5 separate regions of the Homo sapiens genome follow, and all the other regions are linked to region 1. Evidence: promoter capture Hi-C in 16 types of primary human blood cells and fetal thymus (Javierre and others, 2016). All regions are on one chromosome and are shown on one strand. Each heading gives the region's core, a stretch centred on a gene start or on the middle of the fragment in contact. The rest is flanking DNA. Distances are from core to core; before and after follow the strand shown.

The links. Contacts are between HindIII fragments. The CHiCAGO score rates a contact against its expected background, and 5 or more counts as called.
Region 2: a contact is called between a fragment that was not itself captured here and the fragment with the promoter of ERCC3 in region 1, in 16 of 17 cell types (endothelial precursors, erythroblasts, megakaryocytes and 13 more). The highest score is 13.1, in endothelial precursors.
Region 3: a fragment that was not itself captured here is called in contact with the fragment with the promoter of ERCC3 in region 1 in 11 of 17 cell types (neutrophils, endothelial precursors, M2 macrophages and 8 more); the score reaches 8.4 in neutrophils.
Region 4: a contact is called between a fragment that was not itself captured here and the fragment with the promoter of ERCC3 in region 1, in 8 of 17 cell types (endothelial precursors, M1 macrophages, megakaryocytes and 5 more). The highest score is 13.1, in endothelial precursors.
Region 5: a fragment that was not itself captured here is called in contact with the fragment with the promoter of ERCC3 in region 1 in 5 of 17 cell types (endothelial precursors, M2 macrophages, erythroblasts and 2 more); the score reaches 7.2 in endothelial precursors.

Annotation. Positions count from the first base shown.
Region 1 is chr2:127,292,386-127,295,815 of GRCh38, forward strand. ERCC3 (ERCC excision repair 3, TFIIH core complex helicase subunit) reads right to left here and starts at 1,759. Exons shown (of 15, transcript NM_000122.2): 1 at 1,669-1,759; 2 at 1,128-1,333; 3 at 225-461. The coding sequence starts at 1,696. The HindIII fragment of the contact is 2,323 bases long and covers 784-3,106 here.
Region 2 is chr2:127,506,215-127,509,644 of GRCh38, forward strand. All of the region lies in intron 2 of IWS1 (interacts with SUPT6H, CTD assembly factor 1), which reads right to left. Among named protein-coding and RNA genes, the nearest start is that of IWS1, 19 kb to the right of the region's middle. The HindIII fragment of the contact is 2,455 bases long and covers 519-2,973 here.
Region 3 is chr2:127,484,976-127,488,405 of GRCh38, forward strand. IWS1 (interacts with SUPT6H, CTD assembly factor 1) reads right to left here. Exons shown (of 14, transcript NM_017969.3): 13 at 1,578-1,689. Among named protein-coding and RNA genes, the nearest start is that of IWS1, 40 kb to the right of the region's middle. The HindIII fragment of the contact is 8,127 bases long and covers 1-3,430 here.
Region 4 is chr2:127,462,851-127,466,280 of GRCh38, forward strand. No RefSeq gene overlaps it. Among named protein-coding and RNA genes, the nearest start is that of MIR4783, 41 kb to the left of the region's middle. RefSeq lists an enhancer at 749-1,356. The HindIII fragment of the contact is 3,714 bases long and covers 75-3,430 here.
Region 5 is chr2:127,446,791-127,450,220 of GRCh38, forward strand. No RefSeq gene overlaps it. Among named protein-coding and RNA genes, the nearest start is that of MIR4783, 25 kb to the left of the region's middle. The HindIII fragment of the contact is 3,775 bases long and covers 1-3,430 here.

The DNA.
Region 1 (3,430 bases), core at 509-3,008:
ACAATGCTGGATCCAGAGTGTAGCGGCTCATGAGAAGCATGGCCTCACCCAGAACACAATGCTGGATCCAGAGTGTAGCGGCTGGGGTAATCAGTCGTTATGCTCCCCACAGGAAATCTGAATGGCACATTCTCATGGCTGCCACAGGCTGACAACATGGAGCACCTATGCCTATTGTTACATTAGCAGGGCAGGTGGAATTGCTGGTCTCAGCTGTCACTTGCCTTAATAAACTGCATAATTCCATCAGGGACTCCAGTCTTGCTGAGCTTCCTGAGGTACTCGGTGATGTCACTGGTTTGCAGCCCAACGCTGACAGCTGCATACAAGGAGTAGGCAGTTAGTTTGTACTCATGCACATGGGTTGGTCGGCACACTGGCTCTGCAATAGCCACCAAGAAGTCTTGGGCATATTTGTAAACTGGAGAGAAGGCTTCCAAGAAGATATGGCCATCGGGAGCCTGAGAGATACCAAATGGACAAAACAGACAAGGAAACATGAGTTGCAGAGACTACTGGGCTCTTGCCCATATCATTATCAAGAAAGAATAAGCTGCCCAACACCACAGATATTCTTGCAAGCACTCCTTCAGACAACTGTGGGGCCTGTTACATTAATCAGATACAGAAGAGTAAAGAAAAATAGAAGAAAGTGTTTCCAAAGTCAACAGCTGTTTCCTACTATTCTGCACAGAGAAAGCCCATCTTACTGGCTATCCTCAAGTTACCTTTTGGCTAGATTTCAACTAAATGTATAACATTAATTATTTAAAGTAGAGCAAAAGCTTGCTACCGAACATGTCTTCCATTATTTGAGGAAACAAACTGTTACATGATAAATGCTATTTATTCGGCAGATAAAAGGATTCACTACATGGGGTAGGGCTGGGGAAGGAGTGAGAGTAAACCGAGGGGTTAGAGCTGTTGGAAGCCCAGGTCCGGCCGCCACACGTGTGCGCAACTGCTCGCTGTTGCCTTGGGCTGTTCCAACGTGTGTGGATGAAAATTCTCTCCCGGCCAGTTCTAGGGGCAGTATCCTGAATGTCAGTTTTGACTCTGAGGATGCCCAAGATTTAGCTGCCGCTCCGCACACTCCTGGGCCCTGCCCAAGCTAAGGGCATGCTTACCACCCAGAGGGGCCTGGAGGTGTGGTCGTCCTTCAGCGGCATTTGCAGCCTGTAGTCCTTGGCTCCATATTCATCCACTTTGGTGCCTGACTCATCCACCTGCTTCCCCGCCGCCGAGGGAACCGCTTCCTGAGGGTCGTTCCCCGGGGCGTCCTCTTCATCATCCTCTTCATCCTCATAGTGCCGCTTCCTGGATTTCTTCTTGTCTGCAAGATACCAACACAGAAGTAAGCCCAGCAGGAGCCTTCAGGGTTCCCTCCGCACCGCTTGGCAGCATTTCACCTGCGCCGCCGCAAACTCCTAGCTAAGAGCCACCTGCATCCCGCAGGCGTTGCGCCCCTCACCCGTCTCCCCTAGGCCGAGTTCGCTGGGCTGCGCCCAGGTCCAGCATCTCTCCCGCCCAAAGGCCTGTCCCAACGGGGTGCGCGCGGGAGGGCCAGCAGGGTCGGCCGGCGCAGAGGCCCGGAGCAGCTCCGAGGCAGAGCGGGGGGCAGGGCCGGCAAGGGCAGTCGTGGCTGAGCGTGCCCGCGCAACGTCTCACCGCGGTCCGCTCGGTCTCTTTTGCCCATGGCAGCTACAGCAGCAGAGAGAAGATGACCCCGCTCCCACAGGCCCGCCGCGGCATCCGCTCTGGGGGGACTTCCGGCTCAATCCGGAAGCTCCCTGTTGTCCACACAGGATGTCCCGCCTCTAGGCGCCGTGATGTGGGTGGCTGGAAGAGCGGAGAGCCAGCGACCGCCGATCTGTTAGCTCGTGCGACCCAGCGGCGGGGGTCCTCCACTGTTCATTTCTCTACAACTGAAGGAAAATACTGTGTGTTGAGCACCTGTGTAGTGCGCGAATTAAAGGCCTCATCCTTCTGGAACTTAAATTTTAATGAAGCCATGTGGGCAATAAATGTGTGTGTGAGAGAGAGAGAGAGAGAATGTGACCTGAGTCCATGGGTAAGGAAGAATTCTTTTTTTTAATTAAAAAAAATTTGGCTGAGCACGGTGGCTCACGCCTGTAATTCCAGCACTTTGGGAGGCTGAGGTGGGTGGATCACTTGAGGTCAGGAGTTCGAGGCCAGCCTGGCCAACATGGTGAAACCCCATCTCTGCGAAAAATACAAAAAAAAGTAGCCAGGCATGGTGGCACACGCCTGTAGTCTAAGCTACTTGGGAGGCTGAGATGGGAGAATCTCTTGAACCCAGAAGGTAAAGGCTGCACTGAGCTGAGATTGCACCACTGCACTACAGCCTGGGCGACAGGCCGAGAGTTCGTCTCAAAAAAAATTTTTTTCTTTTTTTTTTTTTTTTTTTTGAGACGGAGTCTCGCCCTGTCGCCCAGGCTGGAATGCAGTGGCGCGATTTCAGCTCACTGCAAGCTCCGCCTCCCGGGTTCATGCCATTCTCATGTCTCAGCCTAAATAAAGCAGATTACCCTCAATAATGCGGGTGGGCCTCATCCAAATCAGTTGAAGGCCTTAAGAGCAAAGACAGGTTTCTCAAGGAAAAAGGAATTCTGCCTCCAGACTGCAACACAGAAAGTTCTGACTGAGTTTCCAGCCTTTGGACTCAAAACTACAACATCAACTCGTACCTGAATTCCCAACTTGCCAACCCCCACAATTGCATGAGCCAATTCTTTAAAATCAATCAATCAATCTCGCTTGCTCAGTGGGCCTCTTGGTTCTGTTTCTCTGGAGAACGTAACACAGATTTTTGGTACGGGGAATAGGGTACTGCTGTAACAAATACCTAACAATGGGGAAGTGGTTTTCAAATTGGGTAATCGGTAGAGGCTGAAAGAATTTTGAGGCGCATGATAGAAAAGCCTCTATTGTCTTGAAGAGCCTTGGTAGAAGTATGGGCATTAAAGGTGATTCTGGTGACGGCTCAGATGGAAAGGAGAAATATGTTATTGAAACTGGAGGCAAGTGGTAGAGAGCTTGCCTGAATTGTATTCTGTTGGGTGGAAAGTAGAACTTATAAGTGATAAGCTTGGACATTTTGCTGAGGAAATTTCTACATGATGGTTCAAAGTGAGGCCTGGGCCAGGCGCGGTGGCTCACGCCTGTAATCCCAGCACTTTGGGAGGCCGAGGCAGGGGATCATAAGGTCAGGAGTTCAATACCAGCCTGGCCAATATGGTGAATCCCCGTCTCTACTAAAAATACAAAAATTAGCTGGGCGTGGTGTCGCGCGCCTGTAGTCTCAGCTGCTCAGGAGGCTGAGGCAGGAGGATCTCTTGAACTCAGGAGGCAGAAGTTGCAGTGAGCAGAGATCACGCCACTGCACTCCAGCCTGGGCAACAGAGCAAGA
Region 2 (3,430 bases), core at 496-2,995, 210 kb after region 1:
AAAATTAGCTGGGCGTGGTGGTGGACACCTGTAATCCCAGCTACTAGGGAGGCTGAGGCAGGAGAATCACTTGAACCTGGGAGGCGGAGGTTGCAGTGAGCTGAGATTGCACCATCGCACTCCAGCCTGGGTGACAGAGTGAGACTGTCAAAAATAAAAATAAATAAATAAAAATAAATAACTCTATTTTTCAAAGAAATACAAGCAAACATGTAACCAAGTTCTTTTACACAGGAACATTCTTGGGTTTTATAAGGTTAAGATTATTTAAGGGAAAAGAACTATAAAATTTAATTTTATTTAAAGGGTCAAATAACATATGGGCACCTTCTCCCAAGATAATTTAAGCAAACAAAGAAAGGAGAAGTTAACATTTCCTAAGTACCCACTAAGAGCCAATACCACAACAGGCTCTCTCCTGTTAGTTCATTTACTCCTCATAATGGTACTTCTCATGATAACAAAATTGAGGCTTACAGTAGTCACGGTCCTGTGTCTAGTAACCCTAGAAACAAGAAAGCTTAAGTTTTAGGGAGAACATGATTCATCTAACTATACCAACACATAATGTTACTTGAAATAATTACTCTGAAAACATGCCCTGGGGTACAAACTTGATATGTGCATATTATAGCTATGGCTTTAAAATGCAGAGAAAAATATACAAAATTAAACATGCCAAAATACTAACAAGTATTTTAGGATCCGGTGAATTTTTTCTCCCATCTGGTAGCTCAACTTTAAATAACATGGCAATAATATTCTAGCTTAAAAAGTGAAAGTATTTCCGTGTTTGAGTATACCCTCTTAAAAATTTACTGAGCCAAATATTTCTTGTTAGATATATGACTTAAGCTATGTGAACCTACCACAGACCAATTTTCAAGGACCAAAGAGCCTTTAATAATATATATGCCCAACATCATGCTATGAAACAGTTAAGTGACAAGATTATTCTTGTCAATGACAAGATAAATGGCTTGAAAATGTTCTCATAAAACCCAAACTTTTACTAACCCAAGTATGCTGTGTCTACAAATTCAAAAAGAATATGAAAAATTATAAAATAGCCTACAAAGCCAATGTTTGAAGAGTTTTTAAATATTTTATCACCATTATGACAGCACAGCATTGCAAAGAGTCATTGCTATACACAGTCACTGAAATATAGCACATTCAGGTAAGTTTCCAAAATCATACACTTTTCAAAATTCCTAAATACATTTTTCTTGAGTTCTCACTGGGCACTCAACACAGTACTGTATTAGATTCCTTGTCAGTCACAAGCTCTATTATCCCACTGAAACAGGCACTTATCTATTAAAACGGTATTAGGACTTGAGAGATATCATAGAATCTTACAATTACCGTACAATAGTCTGTATGTTGCCTAAAGTTTACTTTAGCCACACTTCATAATTTAAAAGAATGCAGATGGAAAATTTAACTATCTAGATTGTAAGCTCTAGGAAGGCAGACATATTTTGGTTTGTTTTCCTGAGGTATCCTCAGAGTGCAGAATGGTCTCCAGAACATACACACACTAGGTAGAGTTCGAGCATTCCTAATCTGAAAATTCAGACAACTCCAAAATCTGAAACTTCTTGAGCACTGACATGACACCACAAGTGGAAAATTCCACACATAAGCACCCAACACAAACTTTGTTTCATGTGAAAAATTATTTAAAATAATGTGTAAAATTACCTTCCAGCTATGTATATAAGACACATGAATTTCGTGTTTAGACTTGGGTTCCATCGCCAAAATAGCTCACTCTGTATAAGTAAATATTCCAAAACTCGAAAAAATTCTAAATCCAAAACACTTCTGATTTGAAGCATTTTGGATAAGGGATACTCAACGTGTATTTGTTAAATGAGTAATAAAGGCCTTAAGTGGGAATAACATAAGGTGAGGAAAAATTAATCCAACAAGAATGTATTTCATGTCTACTACGTGCAAGACACCAAGAATCCAGGCGGAGTATGTCACAGGGCCTGACCTTAAGAGCTGCTGTCTGATGAGGAGCCAGCCAAGCATACTGTAACAGTATAGTGTGACATGCACTATTCACAAAGTATGTATATGATATTTCAAAAGTGTACTGGAAGTGCATCTATATGAAACTGAGCTGCAAAAAAAAGGTGTGCAGACAACAGGCATGTTTGCATGCAGTTTGTGATGGCTGAGTTAAGACGGGAGGGTGGGGAGAGGCATACAGTACCAGCAGAGGCAATTAAAGCAGGAGGCAAAAAGGAAAATTATAATTGGCTTTTGGAATGCTCTCCATGATATATCCATCACATAACTCTAACACCATTTCTATGTGTGACTTGATTTATTTTAGTTGAAACTACAGAAATCATCTCTAGCTAAGTCCAGAAAAAAAGAACAATCTTCTCAGGATCAAAGTCAGTTGAATGACTAAACACTTGGGAAGGTTAAGTACCAACGCAGCACAGAGAGCTTAGAAAAGGGAACTCAAGGATCATTTTACTAGAGTACCATCAGTAACATGACTCAGCTATACCCTGTCTAGAACCTAAATTATAAATCCCCAAGAGAGATGACTTAACTGGCCAAGGCAATATTAGAAACTGTGACTCAATCAGTTACAGCTGGATCGGGGCACAGCACTGGGAGTCACTCCCAAAGAAGTGAGAGACACTGGGCAGTCATCCAAAACTCACCCGCTACACTCTACCCCAGATTTCCTGACACATGGTGTAGCATTCCAAAACAAACCCTTACAAGGACACTGCATAAGACAATGATTGTAAAATTTAGGAATCCTCATGAATTTTTTATGAGTTTCACGAAAACATAGCATTATGTATGGCATGACAGGGCAAAAAAGGGGAGAAATCACTACAGTAAAGAAGTACTAGTTTAATAGACTCGAGCTAAAGAATACACTTAGACAACACCACCACAGAATTTGGGACGAGTATGCTGGAAATTATACAGTTAAGCTTAAAAGTTATCAAAACAATATCCAAAGTTTTTAGAGTGGTTTTGGCAATTAAATTGCAAGCTTAAAAAAAATCCAAAAGACAGTTTTTTAAAAGTCAGATGAGTACAACAAACCAACAGTTGAAACTGACATTTAATGTCATTTCTAAAATAATGTAACACATTTCCTAGTTGTAATGGTAAAAGAAATTGAGCACTCAGAAGGTCCTTAGATGCTTTAGAAACATCTATAATGCCGCCGGGCGCAGTGGCTCACGCCTGTAATCCCAGCACTTTGGGAGGCCGAGGTGGGCAGATCACGAGGTCAGGAGATTGAGACCATCCTGCCTAACATGGTGAAACCCTGTCTCTACGAAAAATGCAAAAAATTAGCTGAGTGTGGTGGCGCACTCCTGTAGTCCCAGCTACTTGAGAGGCTGAGGCAGGAGAATCACTTGAACCCAGGAAGCGGAGG
Region 3 (3,430 bases), core at 599-3,098, 190 kb after region 1:
GACAGAGCAAGACTCCGTCTCAAAAAGAAAAAGAAAAAGAAAAAGAAAAAGGACAGAAGGGCAAAAAAGAAACAGGTACAGGGGACATGGAGAGGTGGTCAGGGACACGGATATGGGCACAAGAAAGAGGAGGGAGAGAGAGAGGAGGAAGTTCTTGGCACAGAACTAGTCCTTCTCTACCCTCGATTTATTCTCAAGAAATAAGAAAGTACGTTTTGTTTTGATAGTCACTTAATAGCAACATGAACTGGCAGGTAGGAGAGTGGAGTCAGTGGAAACAGCTGCCAAAGCAGGGGTCATGGAGAAGAACCATAGGCAGGCAACACACACACACTGTGTGTGCTCCGCAACAAAGGTGCCATTAGTCTCAAAGCATAGTGGATCAGTGAGTTGGGCTTATGAATGTTCCCAAGTCTTTTCCACTTCTGACCACATTTTGAGTATGTGTTAATCAAATTCATCTCCTAAATATTTAGTATAAGGCTTTATGTAATGAGTTCTCAAATGCATGTTGCTGAGCCACTGACAGCAGGAAACAAGCTACCTCCCACCAGGAAACCACTAACTAGTTTATATGCCTGTAACACATATCACTGTAATTCTGGGTCCTAACAAAAACCTTTTTCATAAAAACGGGTACCAGTCAGGAAGACCCAAATGCATATTAGGGAAGTAATTATCTATTACTCTCTAGGATACTGATAAAGGAAGGGACTTCCATGTCAATTTCTAAATATTCAAGAGGCCTTGAATATCCCAAGGTGCCTGTTAGGGTCATTATTTTGAAACTAAAAGCAGACCTGGCCTCTTCTGATTAAGAAAGCACACACACACACACTTTTCACTCTGACTGTTGACAATTCAAGCCCATGCACAGTACATGCTTCCTTGGGAATACCTCTCGTGTATATACTCTGGTAGGGCCAGGCCTATAGGGGCATCCTGTTGCCTTCAATGCTGAACTTGACAGCACGATGCACTTTGCTGAGTCGTTTCTGTTCTGCAAATCGCCTCTTATGCTTTTCCAATCGGCTTAGGCCCTTTTTAAGAATACCAGGCTAGAAGTAGTAGTTTGATTGGAGAATAAAAAGAGATTACTGAGAAACACTGAAGATCCACTGAGCAGTATTTACAATGATAACAGAATAAGTGTCTACCCTAATCATTTGCAATGGAATTGCTTAAACCGTTGAAGAGAAAGGGAGAGGTAGGTCTGCTGAAGCACGTAAGCTCTGTTTCTCATGGTTATTAAAAAAAAAAATTCACTGTATCAGAATACTCCAGGTTTCAATTTCAAGCCTTGCTTGAAGTAAAGGGATTAATAAGAAGAAACTTCCCTACCTGATAATGTTGAATTAAGACTGAAGAAAAATTCATCAGCAATAAACTTTAATCCTGGGTAATACTTTTCCTTTCTCTATTGCTCAATTTGTGGTTTGGCTAGATAAGCGACCAGAAAACAGTCCTCTCTGAATCAGACAAACTTCAAGAGCTACAAGGGTTATTAACACATGAAGTAAAGAGTCAAACAGTAATCTGCAGGTGAGATCCACCTTGCCGATCCTCCGCTTGCTTACCCTGGATGACTCCATTTCCACATTCCATTTGGGCCTGACAACATAGTCCTTGTTTGAAGGCATTGGGACCCTTGCACGGGCACAGAATCCAGGATCTCCAGGTCTAAGAGCCCTGAAAAAGGGAAGAGGAAGAGCATGCTTCTTATGTGGCCAGCCACAGTGGGGCACATAGGCCATTTCACACTCCTGTTCCTACATCCACCCATTAAGCTGCAATGTTCGAAACTCCTCTACTCCCCACCAAAGGTCACCCAATCCACCCTCCTGCCGCCTCCCAGCTAGCCTGTCATCACACACACTACAGTATGCATTCCTCACTTCTCTTCCAAAGCCAACTTGCTCTGCATTTGCATGAATCCTTTTCTCCTCTCCTCAGCTTCAGATATACTCATGCCCCTCTGCCTTCCAAGGCTAGTCCCGCCCGCATGACTTGGAATCCCCTTTTCTCTTGTATAGTGGAGTCACTCATGAGTTCACTTGTGAGATGAGGAATTGTGAAGAATTGAGTCGTCAAATGACCCCCAAAACTCCCAGTATGCCTATAAAGTAGTTTTTCAATATACAACTCATACATCAATTTTTAATGTTTATTTTTGTAAAAATCTTTTGAAGATAATTACAGATTCAAATGAAGTTGTAAAAAATGATAGAGAGAGAGATCCAATGTCTCTCCCAATAGCAACAACTTGCGAATCTACAGTATAGTATCACAACCAGGATACTGATGTTGATACAGTACACTAATCTTATTTACACTTCCCCAGTTTTACTTGCACTCATTTATGTGTATGTATTTAGTTCTATGCAAATCCGTGGGTAACCATGCTAGACTAAAATAAGATTACTAACCTTCCAAAGTAAAGCCTATCTATGGATGCCTGGGCATTCAAACCATTCAGCATTTAGGTAACTAGTAAAGAGTGGATCTATGTGTGTCTGCTGGGGATGGGGAGAGAAGGGTAAAAAATTCTCAATTGTTTCTATTCTCTTGTACAGTTTACCCCATTTTTAACCCTAAACTTGAATCTCGCTCTGTTGCCCGGGCTAGAGTGCAGTGGCACAATCTCAGCTCACCGCGAGCTCCACCTCCTGGGTTTGTGCCATTCTCCTGCCCCAGCCTACAAAGTAGCTGGGACTACAGGCGCCCGCCACCACGTCCAGCTAATTTTTTGTATTTTTAGTAGAGATGGGGTTTCTCCATGTTAGCCAGGATGGTCTCAACCTCCTGACCTCGTGATCTGCCCACCTCAGCCTCCCAAAGTGCTGGGATTACAGGCGTGAGCCACCGCGCCCGGCCAACCTTAAACTTTTATAACCTTCATATATATATGAACAGACTAATTGGCTTGCCAAGAAAATTCCCTGTAACTCTTACTTTCCTTCTGAAGCCACGGTCTCATCAACTTCCTTCCTAAACAAACTTTTCCTCTAGCTCATCCCCTATTCTCTTCTTGCAATCGGGATGCTGCCTGACTACCAACACACCTGCACAAAGCCCTCTGCAGCACCTGCCACTGGCCCATGCTTTTGTCATTGCCACCTCCAGCTCAGCCTCATTCCCCTCCAGGCTCTGCTCCAACGCACAGGACCACAGGTGCTCATTCCCCTTCGCTGGCTGCTCTGCCTGGCTATGCCCCCTTTCAAAATTGTTTAGTTCGTTTCTTACTCTATACTCTCTTGATTGAACAATCTTTTCTATGGAGAGAACCATCAAATCTAGGTCTCTAGCCCAAACATCTCTTTACAAGTTCTAGACCCATAATATTTATAGGGCTATCTCATTAGGCATGTCACATTTAATATGCTCAAAAGAGAACTTGCCTGGTCCCTCAAATCTACTTCTCCCTCCATTT
Region 4 (3,430 bases), core at 682-3,181, 170 kb after region 1:
CCATGTGGCATATCCATAAAATGAATATTATTCAGTCATTACAAGAAATGCTACAATATGGATGACCTTAGAAAAGCTTATACAAAGGGAAAGAACCCGGACACAAAAGGCGACACATTGTAGGATTCCATTTATATTAAGCGTAAAGAATAATCAAATCCATAAAGTAGATCAGTGGTTGCTGAGGACTGGTAGGAGGGGAAATGGGGAGTGTTATGGGACTTCTTTTTGGGGTGATAAGAATATTTAAACATGGATTGTGGGGATGGTTACATAACTGTGAATATACAAAAAAAAAAAAAACCATGGAATTACCTCTTTAAAATGACTGCAGCATGTGAATTAAATCTCAGTAAAGCTGTTACATTAAAAGAAAAAGCTAAAGTAAAAACAATATCTTTCAAGAATTGTATTGCAATCATATTACACCACGTGATGAAATCCTCAAAAACGTGGGGCAGGTGGTAAATCCTGGCCAAGGCTCCTCGAGCCAGGCCGGCTGGCAGTGCTGCATCGTGCTGAAGGCGCTGAGGTTGCAGCGGATGCATTCCGGGCCAGTGATATGATGTGGACAGGAAAAGTCTTTTGTTCTGGGAAAATGGAGGACTGAAACCTCTTCATGTCTTTTTCCCAGGCCCTGATTTAGGAAGACCAAAACAGGGACTTCTACAGTAGCAGCTTAATCAGCAGATGCTGGGTGGTCGCCTCTGCACATGGCCTGGGGGGCGGGGCGCCTTACCGCGTCACACTGGGTGGATGGGCCTGTGTGTGGCCTCTCTCCAGCTGTGGCTGACAGTACTCACTCAGCCCAGGCTTCCAGGCCCTCCTGGGCCCTCCTATCCACTGAAGGAAATGGGAGATGAGTGGGTAATGGAAAAGCCTTTGGAGTCAGATGTAAATCCATGACTTGACCACTTATTGCTGTGAGACCCTGGACAGCTGGATATAGAGTTCTTGTTCTAGCATCCGCCCTGGGAATCCCCGGAACTGGGCCTCTTACCGACACCATTGCCTGTAATCCACAAACCTAGGAGGTAGGAGTGGCTTTCTTTCGCAGATCCTCCCTCTCCCTGAGTCCCAGAGTTACTGGGCAAACTCGGTTGACCACAGGCATCCAGGCGGTCTCAACCTGGTTTTGTTGTTTTGACACAGTTGTCATTTTTGTAGTTACCCTTGTAATGTAAAAGGTTTTCTTTTTTCCCTTTTTCTTCCCCCCAACCCGCCCATTTTCTTTTCTCTCCTCCCAGTCTCCTGCCTTCCTTTCACCCTCCAAAAGAAGTCTAACTATTAGAGTTGGCAGCAAAATTTGAAGAAAGTGGTTTAAAACTCAGAGAGCCAGGGCTGGGGGTAGTGGCTCACACCTGTAATTCCAGCACTTTGGGAGGCTGAGGCAGGTGGATCACCTGAGGTCAGGAGTTCAAGAGCAGCCTGGTCAACACTGAAACCCCATCTCTACTAAAAATACAAAAATTAGCTGGGCATGGTGGCGCATGCCTGTAATCCCAGCTACTCATGAGGCTGAGGCAGGAGAGTCACTTGAACCCAGGAGGTGGAGGTTGCAGTGAGTGGAGGTCATGCCATTGCACGCCAGCCTGGGCAACAGAGAGATACTCAGTCTCAAAAAAACAAAAACAAAACAAGTCAGAGAGCCAGAAAATAGGAATTTTAGAGTAAGGAACTGGGGCAATTACATGCTCTGGCAGCGTTTAAGAATCTGGGGGCCCCAAAGCCAGCCCTGGGCATTTCTTGGGTATCATGTACCTCTCTGTGGGGGCAGTGCTTCAAAGCCTCCCACTCAGGAGATCTTTGTCAGCAGTGTGATGAGTGGGAAGAGAAAGGCGTACAGCAGTGTGCATGCCAGGCCCCATATGCTTTTAAAAAGGGACTTTATAGCTACGGACAGTCCTATAAGAGAGCAGAAACTGATTTCCTCCCTGTGGTAGGGAGATTTTTCTTACCCTTTTGAACTGTTTCTTTTTTTAACCATGAGGAGGTTACTTTCCATCTAAAAAGTAATAATGTAAAAACCACATGGGGGTGAATGGTATAGAGCCGAGAAGTGCCTGCTCCGGAGGCTGCAAGCTCGGGCTCCCGCAGCACAGCTGCTGCCCACTCTGCTGGAGGCCTCTTCTGGGTGCATCTTCATGAGTTACAAGAAGCACATTACTTTGACCCCAAAGGTAATTATCTTGACTCACTAATTATCTGAATCAGCATATTTGGCTTGGAATCACATAGCTATTACTCCAAACCTGCTCTTTCTTGAAAGAGCAAAGGTTTTTGGCTAGTTGGTTGTTTTACCATTTATAGACATTCAAAAGACTCTTAAGGCAATGTTAAGACTTGTTAACTGGATGGGTGTGGTGGCTCATGCCTATAATCCCAGCACTTTGGGAGGCCAAGGCTGGAGGAGCATTGCTTGAGCCCAGAAGTTGGTGACCAGCCTGGGCCATCATAGTGGGACTAACCTTGCCTCTACTAAAAAAAAAAGACTTGTTGATATGGTTTGGCTGTGTCCCCAACCACATCTTATCTTGAATTGTATCTCCCACAATTCCCACGTCATGGGAGGAACCCAGTAGGAGGTGATTGAATTGTGGGGGTGGGTCTTTCCTCCACTGTTCTCGGGTAGTGAATGAGTCTGATGAGATCTGATGGTTTTAAAAACGGGAGTTTTCCTGCACAAGCTCTCTCTTTGCCTGCAGCCATTCATGTGAGACGTGACTTGCCCCTCCTGCCTTCTGCCATGATTGTGAGGCCTCCCCAGCTATATGTAACTGGAAGTCTTTAAACCTTTTTCCTGTATAAATTACCCAGTCTTGGGTATGTCTTTATCAGCAGTATGAAAATGAACTAATACATTTGTTACATATTTTGAGCCATGGAAAGTGCTCAATTTGGAATAAGTATATGCCCTTGAAGGGTGGCAATTTTCACCAAGATGGATACCACAATATTTGAATGTTTACCATATGCCAAACAATTCCCACACATAATATCTTATTTTCTTCTAACAACACCTCTATAAGGTAAGTGCTATTATTACTCCCACAGAGACCAATTAGGGAAATGACTTATTCAAAGTCAAAGAGTTAGTAAACTATTGGAGCCAGGATCTGAGGCTAGGTCTGGTTAAACTCCAGAGCCTGAGCACATAATCCTTACACTACTGTGAACTGTGGGAAGGGAAATACAAGTTCACACATCACCAAATCCAGTGCCAAGTTAAGCAGATCAAAAACATAACAGTCACTTGGAGGATAACCACAATGAGGGAGCCCTACCTATTAGGCACCTACTGGATGCTGGGCATCCTGCTGGGCACATCCATCCCCATGGCCTCTCTGTGCACTGACATCTGACGTCTTTCTCAGGGAGAAGAAAACTGAAGCTCATGGGGGTGAAGTGACTTTTGCCCTAGGCCAGATAG
Region 5 (3,430 bases), core at 638-3,137, 150 kb after region 1:
AGCTTAGATTGCTGATTTTAGATATTTCTCATTTTCTAATATATGTATTCAGTGATCTAAATTTCCCTCTAACACTGCTTTTGGTGCATCCCACAAATTTTGATAAGTTGTATTTTCATTTTAATTGAAAATATTTTAAAATTTATCTGGAAACTTCTTCTTTGTCCCAACATGTCATAAGTGTGTTGCCTAATCTCCAAATATTTTGGGGTTTTCTAGCTATCTGTTATTGATTTATAGCTTAATTCCATTGTGGTCTGAGATCATACTTTGTATAATTTCCGTTCTTTTAGATTTATTAAGGTGCGTTTCATGGCTGAGAATGTGGTCTATCCTGGTGAATGAATGCTCCAAGTGAGCTTGAGAATGTGTATTCTGCTGTCATTGGATGAAGTATTCTATAGATGTCCATTAGATCCAGTTGATTGATGATGCTGTTGAGTTCAACTATGTCTTTGCTAGTTTTCTGCCAGCTGGATCTGTTAAATAGAGGGGTACTGAAGTCTCCAACATAAAAATGAGTTTGTTTATTTCTCCCTGCAGTTCTATCAGTTCTTGCCTCATCTTGGGACACTGTGTTGCTAGGTGCACACACTTTAAACACTGTTATATCATCTTTGACAACTGACCCCTTTATGGCTATGCAATGCCCCTCTTCATCCCTGATAACATTCCTTGCTCTGAGGAAGTCTACTTTGCCTGAAATTAACACAGCCACTCCAGCTGTCTTTTGATTAGTGTTAACATAGTATACTGTATCTCCATCCCTTTACTTTTAATCTATTTCTTTATATTTAAAGTATATTTCTTCCATTTCTATTCATTGCCCTTGATTTGTTTTGTTCTTTCTAGCCTTTTCAGGTTGTGTGTGTGTGTGTGTGTTGTGTGTGTTTTGCTTTCTCTGGTTTTAATCGAGCATTTTATATTATTCCCTTTTTACTCCTCTCTTATCATACAAATTATACTTGTGGGGTTTTTTAATGTGTGTGGTTTCCCGTGACTTTGCAGTAAATATTTACAACTAATTCAAGTCTTCTTTCATAAAACACTTTACCACTTCATGGGTAGTGCAAATACCTTATGAAAAAGTATTCTCAATTCCTCTCTTCCATCTTTATAACACTGCTGTCATTCATTTATCCATAAGCTGTAATCACTATTAACTGAAAAAACTTTACCTATTAGTTAAAAATGAGAAAGCTAAATTTTTATTTTACCTTCATTTATTTCTTCTCTAACACTCTTCCTTTCTTTATGTAGATCTGAGTTTCTGACCTACATAATTTCCCTTTCCTTCTGAAGAATTTAACACTTCTTGCGAGGCAGGTCTACTGGTGACAAATTCTCTCAATTTTTGATTGTCTGATAAAGTCTTTACTTCTCCTTCACTTAAAAAAAAAAACAAAAAAACCTTTATTGTATTTCCAGTATCTCCTTCACCTTTGAAGGATAACATTTGGTGAATACAGAATTCTAGGTTGATGGGTTTTTTTTCTTTCAACGCTTTAAATCCCATAAACCACTCTCTTCTTGGGTGCAGTTTCTGATGTGAAGCATGATATAATGCTTACCATTGTTCTTCTACAGATAAGATGTTTTTCCCCTCTGGCTTCTTTCTATATTCTTCCCATGTCTTTGATTTTTGCAGTTTGAATAGATATTCTTAGGTGTAGATTTTTTGGGGTATTCATCCTGTTTGGTGTTCTCTGGGCTTCCTACACCTGTGGTTTGGTGTCTGCCATTAATTTTGGAAAGTTCTGTTATTACTTCAAGTATTTCTTCTGTTTCTTTCTTCTCTGTGTGGTATTCCCATTATGTGTACACTATCCTTTTATACCTTTGGTATTTGTCCCACAGTTCTTGAATATTCTATCCCATCATTTCCATTACTTCTTCCTCTCTGCATTTCAATTTTGGGAGTTTCTATTGACATTCCTTGAAGCTCACTGATTCATTCCTTGGCCATGTCCCATCTATTCATGACTCCACTAAAAGCATTCTTCACTTCAGTTACAGTGTTTATTTTTATTTCTAGCATTTTGTTTTGCTTTTTTCCTTTTTTCTTTTTATAGAGACAAGGTCTCACTATGTTGCCCAGCCTGGTCTCGAACTCCTGGGCTCAAGCGATCCTCCTCAGCCTCCCAAAGTGCTGGGATTACAGGTGTGAGCCACCGCATCTGGCCATTGCACCTGATTCTTTCTTAGGCATTTCCATCTTTCTACTTACATTACTCCTCTGTTCTTGCATGTTAGCCACTTTTCTTATTTGAGTCCTTAGCATATTAATCAATTATTTAAAATTTTCTGTCTGATAATTCAAGCATCTCTGCCATATCTGTCTTATTCTGATGTTTGTTCTGTCTATTCAAAGTGTATTTGTCTCTTATAAAACATGATGTGTTGGGCAAAAGAAACTGAGGTAAACAAGCCTTTTGTGAGGCTTTCTGTACTTTACTTCTCCTTCACTTAAAAAAAAAACAACAAACCTTGATTGTATTTCCAGTATCTCCTTCACTTTTGAAGGATAATTTGGTGAATACAGAATTCTATCTGGCTAGGAGTTGGGCTGTGTTTACCGTTTGCTCTAGCTGTAGGTGTCAGAGGATAACATTTACTTTGGTGTTCTTGTCTGTGGCTTCCCTGTTGTCTTTGGGTTTCCCTAGAGTCTTCTTCATAAATCAGGTCTGAGATGTGCAGTTCAGTTGTATTCTCGTTATTACAGGAGCCCTGTTGATGTGTTAGTGAGGGGTGGAGGGACGAAGCATTCTATAGGTCTCAGTCTTTTAATGAACCTCTGCAGGGGCTGTGACCAACACAAGGGCTTCTCATTTGTCTTTCCCCGCTGGAGGTGGGCAGGAAGCCTAGAGGAGGGTAGAGTTGGGTATTTCTCTTCCCACATGTCAGGCTCCGGTAAAACAGTTTCCCCTGAGGACAGACCTTGTTAAGAAGAGAATGCTCTGGGTTACCTTTTCTTTTCCTCTACCAGAAGCAGCAGGGAATTTTTCTCTGATCTTTACTGTGACAACTTGGTAAAGCAAAACAAAACAAAAAACTGTGTGGGGCCCTGTAAGACTGGCTCCCCTGGTATTTTTAACTCTCTCATGGAGTGCCCAGCAAATCATCAATTAAGTTTTAAGTTTCCCTACCCCGGTACTGGTTCCTGTGGAGTTTTCTACTCCTAGGCCTCTGCTCCCGTAAGTTCTGGTTCTCTGTATGTGCTTCTCTGTCTCTCCATTTTGAGGACAGCAGTTTGCCCTGTGGCCTCAGATCTCTGGTGGATCAAGAAAAGTTGTTGATTTTCAGTCTGTTCAGCGTTTTTCTTGTTGTGAGGTTGGGGGTGATGACTGCTAAGCTCCTCACATGCCAACTGAAAATGAACAGTGTCTTTTGAAGAATGACAGTTTTTAATTTTGAAATAGTCCAATTTATT